2 separate regions of the Homo sapiens genome follow, and region 2 is linked to region 1. Evidence: promoter capture Hi-C in human tissues and cell types (Jung and others, 2019). All regions are on one chromosome and are shown on one strand. Each heading gives the region's core, a stretch centred on a gene start or on the middle of the fragment in contact. The rest is flanking DNA. Distances are from core to core; before and after follow the strand shown. Region 1 holds the start of INTS2 (integrator complex subunit 2). Region 2 overlaps BCAS3 (BCAS3 microtubule associated cell migration factor).

Evidence for each region. The method cuts DNA at HindIII sites, captures the fragments that hold promoters and counts their contacts. A contact is called where the count stands out against the background at its distance.
Region 2: a contact is called between a fragment that was not itself captured here and the fragment with the promoter of INTS2 in region 1, in 1 of the 25 tissues and cell types used here (dorsolateral prefrontal cortex).

Annotation. Positions count from the first base shown.
Region 1 is chr17:61,925,911-61,930,358 of GRCh38, forward strand. INTS2 (integrator complex subunit 2) reads right to left here and starts at 2,072. Exons shown (of 25, transcript NM_001351695.2): 1 at 1,744-2,072; 2 at 442-752. The coding sequence starts at 734. RefSeq lists a silencer at 2,103-2,202. The HindIII fragment of the contact is 16,998 bases long and covers 1-4,448 here.
Region 2 is chr17:60,830,848-60,835,355 of GRCh38, forward strand. The region is part of intron 7 of BCAS3 (BCAS3 microtubule associated cell migration factor); the gene reads left to right. Among named protein-coding and RNA genes, the nearest start is that of BCAS3, 160 kb to the left of the region's middle. The HindIII fragment of the contact is 3,838 bases long and covers 265-4,102 here.

The DNA of each region.
Region 1 (4,448 bases), core at 822-3,321:
AGCTACTCGGGAGGCTGAGGCAGGAGGATCGCTTGAACCTGGGAGGCTGAGGTTGCAGTGAGCCAAGATCACGCCATTGCACTCCAGCCTGGGCAACAAGAGCGAAACTCTGTCTCAAAAAAGAAAAAAAAAAGCCTCCCAAGTGATTCCAATAAATCCCTCTAATCTAGGGGAAGTTACCCTACCTACTTCCCACTGAAAGTAATTGGCCTAATGAGTTTAGCCCACATACAACAGCACATTGCCATATTTCTCTAGATAACATTTTATAACATGGAAGTCAAAAGATTCTGGAACTGTAACTATATACAGAAAAGACCTAAGTAAAATGCTCTCCAGAATTTAGATTCTCATTCTCTCTTTTCTGGAGAGCTCTAAAAAATATCTGATTCCCTGTTCTTTGTCAAATCCAAATCCACATATAATATAACATAACATTACCTAAGCTGCTGTTCTTTGCTGGCATCTTGTTCTAAAGCATGAAAGTCCACGGACAACAATGCAACAATGGAGTTGACAGCTTCCACTCCAGAAAGAAGGCGAAGGATGAGTTTCTTATCCTGAGCCCAGCTTTGGCTCTGGTCAGCAGGTGCACAAAGTGCCATCCGTACCAAACAGGGCAGAAGAAGTCTTAATTCTGGATCACTTAAAGATGCCAGGCAAACAACATCCACCTTCTGCATTGCCTCAAAAGCAAAAGGGCTGACAAACTGAAGACTTGTACATTCAGTCATTATTACTGTTTGTTGATCCTAATGGTAAAAATACAAATGAAAGTAGGAGTTTAACTTTCACATGTATGAACACCCAACTTTCTAAAAACCCTGAAAAATGTGGTGTATCTTTAATAGGTCCCTATGTTGGCAATGTTCCTGGCACAATCAAGACAAGGCTTCTCTGTCTCCCTAGGTTTATACTGTCACCTGGGAAATGGGAAAGAAAACAGAGTATATTAATGTCTCTTCCAGCCTCAGGAATCTTCTGCTCTAATACTCATATTTTACAAAGAAGGAATATGAAGCCCAGAGAGATGAAGTAACACGCCCAAAATAGTATTACTAGTTAGAGGCACAATCCAAGGCTGAATCCTCATCTACTAAAATCCCAGTCCAAGACTTTCTCCACTATATCAGTCACATGAGCTCCACAAAATGTAAACAAAAGTGAATGGTCATAGTTAAGTGCTTTCTTTCATACCCCGATAGTTTCACATGCCTACCCCGATATACATCAAGAACTATTGGGCTTCTCTTTCTCACCCTCCATGAGTCGGTGGAAAAACTAGCAAATCACTGGGCAGAACCAATGCCAGATTCAAGGCTCTGGAGGCCACAACACTATCCTATGTCCCCTGTGTTACCGGGTAAAAAGCAGATGTGTGGGTGCTATGTGAGAAAGACGCGTCTCATTAGCGCACTTCTCTGTCTCCAGGAATCATCCAAGGCACAAAAAGTAAACAAAAAGGCAGTGAGCTGGCAGCCAAAGCAGTCCCCTCTCAAGGCCGACCGACTAGCAGCAGCGTGGGTAAAAGTCGTGGGTAAAAACTGCTTTGCTTTCAGGGAGGGGCTGCTCTTTTAACAGAGGGGCGGGCTGACTGGAGCAGAGGAGCCAAGACCTGCGTGCTCCTCCGTCTCGCCCCGGGCGCAACTAGAACCAATAAGTCCCTCAGGCTGAGCAAAGTCTGGCCAGGCTCCGACACGGACCTAGGAACGCGCTGAGGCCAGAGAAGCGGACGCTTCATACCTTAAGATCTACCCTCCAGCCTCACGGAACCGCACACGGACTCCGCGTCCTAGAGGCGGGACGCGGCAGAAATCGAGAGCGCGGTCCGATGTTGGGCCTAGGCGATATCCGGAACCCCAAACCCTAGTTGTGCCTCGAGTCGACTCGGACACCAAGAACTCAGACGCCGGGACCAACCGGGTTGTCGATACAAAGTGGGAAGGATGGGGGCACCACACAAAGGCAGAACCGGGACTGTAGGAACGGAAAAGCGGGAGACTTTTTCAACCTGCACCCAGCACCTTCATTCATCCCCAGCGTCTGACTCCCGTCGGCCACCGTACTGGTCTGAGAGGAAGGGTGGCTGCGAGAGGAAAGGCAGAGACGTCGGCGCCAATGCAACTGTGCGCGTGCGCGGCCCCGCCCCTTTCTCCACTTTATTTGCCCTGCCCTACTTGTTCGCCAAAAATTTAGAAATGTGATTCTGGTAGGCTCTGATTTCCAGAGCCTACCAGCTCCTTCCTTTTAGACAAGCAAGCCACTGAGCCCCTCAGAACTTAAATTTCATCATCACAGGATTGCCATGGCATTCAAATGGCATAACGTGTGTTAAAATCGTTCCCACTATTCTTTGACACTAGTGGTACCAAACTGTACTCTTTAAATCTTTGCCTGTGCCTTCCCAGAACCAAAATTCTAGAATCCCAGGATTTGTGGGAGAATTTTAAAAGTGATCTAACCCCAAACTTTCTTCCGCTCTTGACCTCACACCTCCGCTGTCAGAAGTTAAACACCTTCCTTTCAGGTTCTTAACTTGGGGGACCCATAGAACCTTAGAGAGGCAATGCACGGGGATTCAGGAATTCTCTGGAATCCGTTCAGAACTGAGTGCTCGGCACTTCTTCTGGGAAGAGGGTCCAAAACTTTCAACAACTTCTCAAAGGAAGTCTGATCACTCAGAAAAGAACCACTAGTCTATATATGAAGAACCGCTAGTCCATATGTCTTCATACTATTTATTGTTCCTAGTTCGATCAACGTTTATTTGGCAACTTCTATTTACCAGATATTGTGCTAGGAGCTGGAAATAAAAATATTTTACAAAGATATAGCACTTTATAACCTCTTTAAAAATAAAGTCAGAGCCGGGCGTGGTGTCTCATGCCTGTAATCCCAGCGCTTTGGGAAGCCGAGGCGGGCGGATCACCTGAGGTCAGGAGTTCGAGACCAGCCTGACGCAACATGACTAAACCCCAACTCTACAAAAAATATAAAAATTAGGCCGAGCACGATGGCTCATGCCTGTAATCCTAGCACTTTGGGAGGCCGAGGCAGGCAGATCACGAGGCCAGGAGTTCGAGACCAGCCTGACCAACATGGTGAAACTCCGCCTCTACTAAAAATGCAAAAATTAGCCAGGCGTGGTGGTGTGCGCCTGTAATCTCAGCTACTTGGGAGGCTGAGGCGGGAGCATTGCTTGAACCTGGGAGGCGGAGGTTGTGGTGAGCTGAGATCGTGCCATTGCACTCCAGCCTAGGCAATAAGAGCGAAACTCCGTCTCAAAAAAAAAAAAAAAAAAAAAAAATTACCCCAGCGTGGTGATGGAGCACCTGTAGTCCCAGCTACTTCGGAGGCTGAGACAGGAAAATCACTTGAACCTAGGAGGCAGATGTTTCAGTGAGCAGAGATCATGCCACCGCACTCCAGCCTGGGCAACAGAGCCAGACTCCATCTCAAAAATATATATATATATATGACTTTCAACATAGATCAGCAAAGGAAGAAAAGAATTGTGTGTTGCAATGCTTCTGAAAATTTTTTCCACCTGACCCACAATAATACATTTCACATTGTGACCCAGAAAAAACATATGTATATATCCACATACAAAAATAAGTGTAAGTGTATAAATTTATATGCTATATAAACATATAAATATATAACATATAAACCCACATTTACATGGAAACAAATATTTCGTATAATAACACACACACTACATGTTTCTACTTCTCTTTAAAAAACTGCTGGTCACTGCACACTAAAACTGATTTCACACTCTATTAATGGGTTGCACACTGTACTGTCCTAGCATTTTTAAGCTAATATTTGGGATTTATTTATTGAACACTTGCTAGGCACTGTAATAAATGCTTTATATATATTATCTGATTCAATCTTGTGACGTAGGTAATATTCGCCTTTTGCAATTGTGGAAACTGAGAGAGGGTAAGCAATTTCATCTCCATGGATGGTCATTTCACAGGAAAAGTGTGAAGGCAGTGCAAACATTGGTTTGAGGGACGAATGAGAGGAAGATGTGGGTATGAACTAAGTGATTTTAAAGATCCTTTCCAACTCTAATTATGATCCTCTGTTCACTAATGGAGAAACATCATGCAGATTCAGTATCTCCATCTTGATCTATGGAGAAACAGAAAAATCACTGAATGAGATGGCTGCAGTGTCACATAATGAGTGCTGACACTTCCTCCAAGTCCCCCTCTCCTTTTCTTCCAGTTCACCAACTTGACCTTGAGTTGCTCAAGCCAGAAACCTAAAAGTCATCCTAGACTCTAATCTCTCCCCCTTGTATTAATTTAGCAAAAATCTTTATAATCATTGAAACATTGTAATGTTTGCCAATAAAACTTTTTTTTTTTTGAGACAGAGTCTCGTTCTGTTGCCCAAGCTGGAGTGCAGTGGCACGATCTCGGCTCACTACA
Region 2 (4,508 bases), core at 934-3,433, 1.1 Mb before region 1:
GGGTTTTTTTTTTTTTTTAAATAAACATCCTTTTGTTTTTTTAAGACAAGGTCTTACTCTGTGATCCATGCTGGAGTGCAGTGGTACAGTCTTGGCTCACTGCAACATTTGACCCTCGGGCTCAAACAGTTCTCCCACTTCAGCCTCCCTAGTAGCTGGGACTACAGGTGTGTCCCACCAGACTCGGCTAGACGGGGTTTTGTGGTATTGCCTAGGCTGGTCTCGAACTCCTGAACTCAAGTGATCCTCCTGCCTTGGCCTCCCTAAGTGCTGTGATTACAGGCATGAGCCACTGCATCTGGCCAATAAATGTCTTTTGATTGAGTTATATGTTATGTCTTTTTTTTGAGACCCAGCCTCATTCTGTCAACCAGGCTGGAGTGTAGTGGCACGGTCTCGGCTTACTGCAACCTCTGCCTCCCAGGCTCAAGTGATTCTTCTGCCTCAGCCTCCTGAGTAGCTGGGACTACAGGCGCGTGCCACCACGCCTAGCTAATTTTTGTATTTTTAGTAGAGACAGGATTTCACCATGTTGGCCAGGCTGGTCTCGAACTCCTGACCTCAGGTGATCCTCCCGCCTCAGCCTCCCAAAGTGCTGAGATTACAGGCATGAGCCACTGCACCGACCTATGTTATGTCTTCCTTATGTTAACTGATTTTATCCTTTGTTAGAAAACAATTGTTGTGACAAGTGGTTTTCTTTTCATTTATATAATTTTATTAACATCTTGTTTACCAAACACAGTATACAACGAAGGTTAAAACAGTTATTGTGAGATGACTGGCATGTTAATTAGAGCCTCCCTACGTGTGTGTGGGTGTGGGTGGATGTGCTTTTGGAGAGACTAATGCAGAGCAAGGGACAGTATTTTGAGTGCCTCTTTGGCGGTGGGTTTTTTTTTTTAAATGACAAGCCCTCAAATATGTGGTATGTTTAAGTCTTATCAGTTATTTAGATGTAGTCACATTTATCTCTGTGGAAAATATAAAATACAATAATTTGTATATTGTAAAGTAATGTCATTTTTAATTTTTTGATTAGTCTTTTTCACTTTCTTGAAAAATTCAGAAGAAAACATTCTGAATGCATCTGTTTGTCAGTTTTGTCCGTGCACCTTTCTCAGACAAAAAAATAAAATGTACGTTTATGATGATGAAAACAGCTGCAGTGCATACTTCTGAGAGTCATTTGTCAAACGAAGCAGCAATAGAGGAAAAATGATAATACACCACTGCACTATTAAGTATAAAACTGCTGCAATTGGTGCCGTTTTAAATTATTAAACACTGTAAATGCCATAAAGTTAATTAGAAGAGGAACAAACTCTACAAAGATAAATGTGTTTTCAGTATGATTGTTAGGGGAGGGTACAGTAGAAACCAGTGAATAGAGAGGAAATTTATTTCTGGCAGGACTCTACACATGGAACTGTGGCTGAACTTTTTACCCTAATTACCTCCTGCTAATGCCTGCAGCGGGCTGGAATCAAAGTGGTGCTTCAGGCCCTGGAAATTCTCTGATGTGGCAAACGTTTGTTGTGTGAGGAGGGTTTCTTAAGAAAAAGCAGAATATTGTGACAGGATTTAAAAAAAATTTCTCAGTTACCACCCACCTCACTTGTTGCCTACAAAAATAGAGTAATTGTTTGCATCTGTGTGTGCTTTTTTATCCCCTAAGAAATAACTGTTATAAATCAATGTGACATAGATCCAGTGAACTGAGGCTTGCCTGAGGTAGGATTTTTTTTTGTTTTTTAAAGTTTCTCCTTTAATTGAAAATTTAGATTCCAAATGTAAAGAGGTTATTTTTTATAATTGAGAAGAAACATTCTATGCATTTTTAAGGAGAATTTGGATCTTAAAGTGTGCTTTTCAAAATGAATTCTAAAAACTTTTGTAGTATCAAACTGATAACTATTAAATTGCTTAATCCTGGAAAAAGTGGGAATTTCCAGTTTCCATTATTAGTTCTCCATCTGAGACTAGAACCTAAAAGACATTTCTCTAATCTTTGTGAAAGTTAATATCATTCCACTTATGTGTCACAAAAGGTTTGGCCATGTATGCATTTTTGAAATAAAAAGAATTAGTTCTCTAAAAGCACCTGCTTTTCAACTTCTGCCTTTAAAGGCAGTGTTTCTATACAATGTAAAATACAAGTACCATGACAAGTCATTTTATATAATCTATTTTTAAAAAATAGAGATAGGGGTCTCACTGTATTGCCCAGGCTGGTCTCAAACTCCTGAGCTCAAGCGATCCTCCCACCTCAGACTGCCAAACAGCTGGGATTACAGGTGCGAGCCACTGTACCTGGCCCATTTTATATATTCTAAAAGAATCCAATTTTCAAATAGTCTGCCCTTGTGCATCTGTGCTGTCTTGTGTCTCCAGCTCCAGCCCTTATCTAATCTTCTTGAAATACCTTTTAGATAATTCTTGAAAAGCACTAATAGCACTTTTTTTATAATGCAAATAAAATCATGTTTTTATGTTGGCAAAAATTTATTTTGGCAGTCTTTTAGTTGGATGTCCTAAAGAAATAGTTTTAATTTTTAAAAGCAGAATGCTGTGAGTTTTCTTGATCCTAGGCAATAAGAATTGTAGTGAAATCCCAAATTTCTTTCAAGATTGTGTCAGAAACTCACAGTTGCTGTGGTTACAGATTGCTTCATTATAACCTTAGTATTTTGCATTTTGCACACTTATACTTTTGCATTGCATCTGTGACCATTCATTCATATAGTAGTTTTGTGAATTGTGAATGAGGGCTATTTGTTTGAACTACCAAGTTTCAAAATTATGTTACAAACAATTTATTTTTATTTCGTTCGGTACATATGTTTACAAAAACTTTAATCAGTGGTAAGGCACTTATATATTTTCACTTCACGTATTCTTTCAAAACTGTAATTATCCACATTTGATATAATAGATATATTTTGCAACATTTGGCTTTGTCATTTGACGCCCCTTCATTTTCCGCTCAATTCCAACTGCCTTTACAAGAAAAGCCAAATAAGAAAACATTTTACTTCTCTGTCTACTATGAAAAGTAATCTGTCAAAACGTGAAACTACTTTTTAAAGCTGTATTTATATCTGTAGGTATTTGGTGCAATTTAAGTTATATTTCACTATAAAATAACTGCATATTATCATTAGAAGGATTTAAATCATCATGTGATATTTTTCTGATTCTAATAACAGGAAAGAGAAATTATACTAATGTGGCTTTATCACAAATTATGTAATATAATAACATTTATGTAAAATGAATGTAAATATTCTTACTAGTTTTCAAACAAAACATTTTATGGTACAAGAGGAATAATTTTGTTGTACTTCAATAATATGTCAGATTTCTTAGAAGTATTAATTTAGAACAGGATATTTTATTGTCTTCTTAATAAAGATAAGCAAAAGCTTAGATTTTTCTGCTATCATTTTAAGAATTGACAAGGAAAATAATTGACTATAAATTTTTACACATATCCTTCTCTAAAATGTTTCCTGTTCTGTCTTGATATAACAGGTTGTTCCTTGATTTTGAGAATTAGACTTTAAGCATAATCTATTAATTTTGGCTTTACTTCATTTCTCAGCATGTCTCAAATGCTGTGATGAACTTTGGTTACTTTGAAATGTTTAGTGAAGTGGTTTCTATTGATTTCATATGTGTACTCAAACTAATCTACATTGGTAGATTATCAAGTTTTAAGATGATACTAGAGTAATAAAACTGGGCATACTCTTTCACAGTATAGTAGTATATTTGGCCTCACTGTGCTTGCTTGGCAGAAGATGGTATAATTAACATCTTTTTATGAGTTGAGCTAGACTTTAGTATCCTCATTTCAAGTACCCCATGTTTTTTTGTTAGCTATGGTTGTGTGTATCTGTTAATATGAAAAATGACTCTGTATTTTTTTGTTTATCATAACTGATAAGGAGTTTTAAGTTATATTGCTTTTAGGGAAATAAATCCCGGCAACATCTTGCTTTTTGTGGTTGTTAGTGCTTCTACTATAACCAACTTATAAATTTTCCCTAGTATATTCTTTTAGTTTTCAAAAGTTCCTTATAATAGTATGACTCAAAACTAACTGTACATGATTTTTAGGGAACTTTATGATGTATTTCTTTATCATTAACTAAAATTTTAATGTTTAATTTTTAACTGGTCTGTTTTGCCTCTCTATTCTTCTGTATTCCTCTGCCAGCAGTTTCTGCACTTTTGTTATCTATCAGAAGAAAGCGATAAAATAGGAAAGTACAATAGAATCTTCTAATGGACATTAAATTCATATATCTTCCAAAATTAAAAAATAATGAACAATTTATTAATATTTTTGCTATTAAAGCTATAAATATATTTTTCTTTTACATGTGGATTTACAATATGAGATTTTTAGTATCCTGAATTACTACTTTCAAACAGTACACTGTAACAGTTATGCTATTATTATGGCTGATTATATTATCTACTACATGAATACCGAAGGCAGA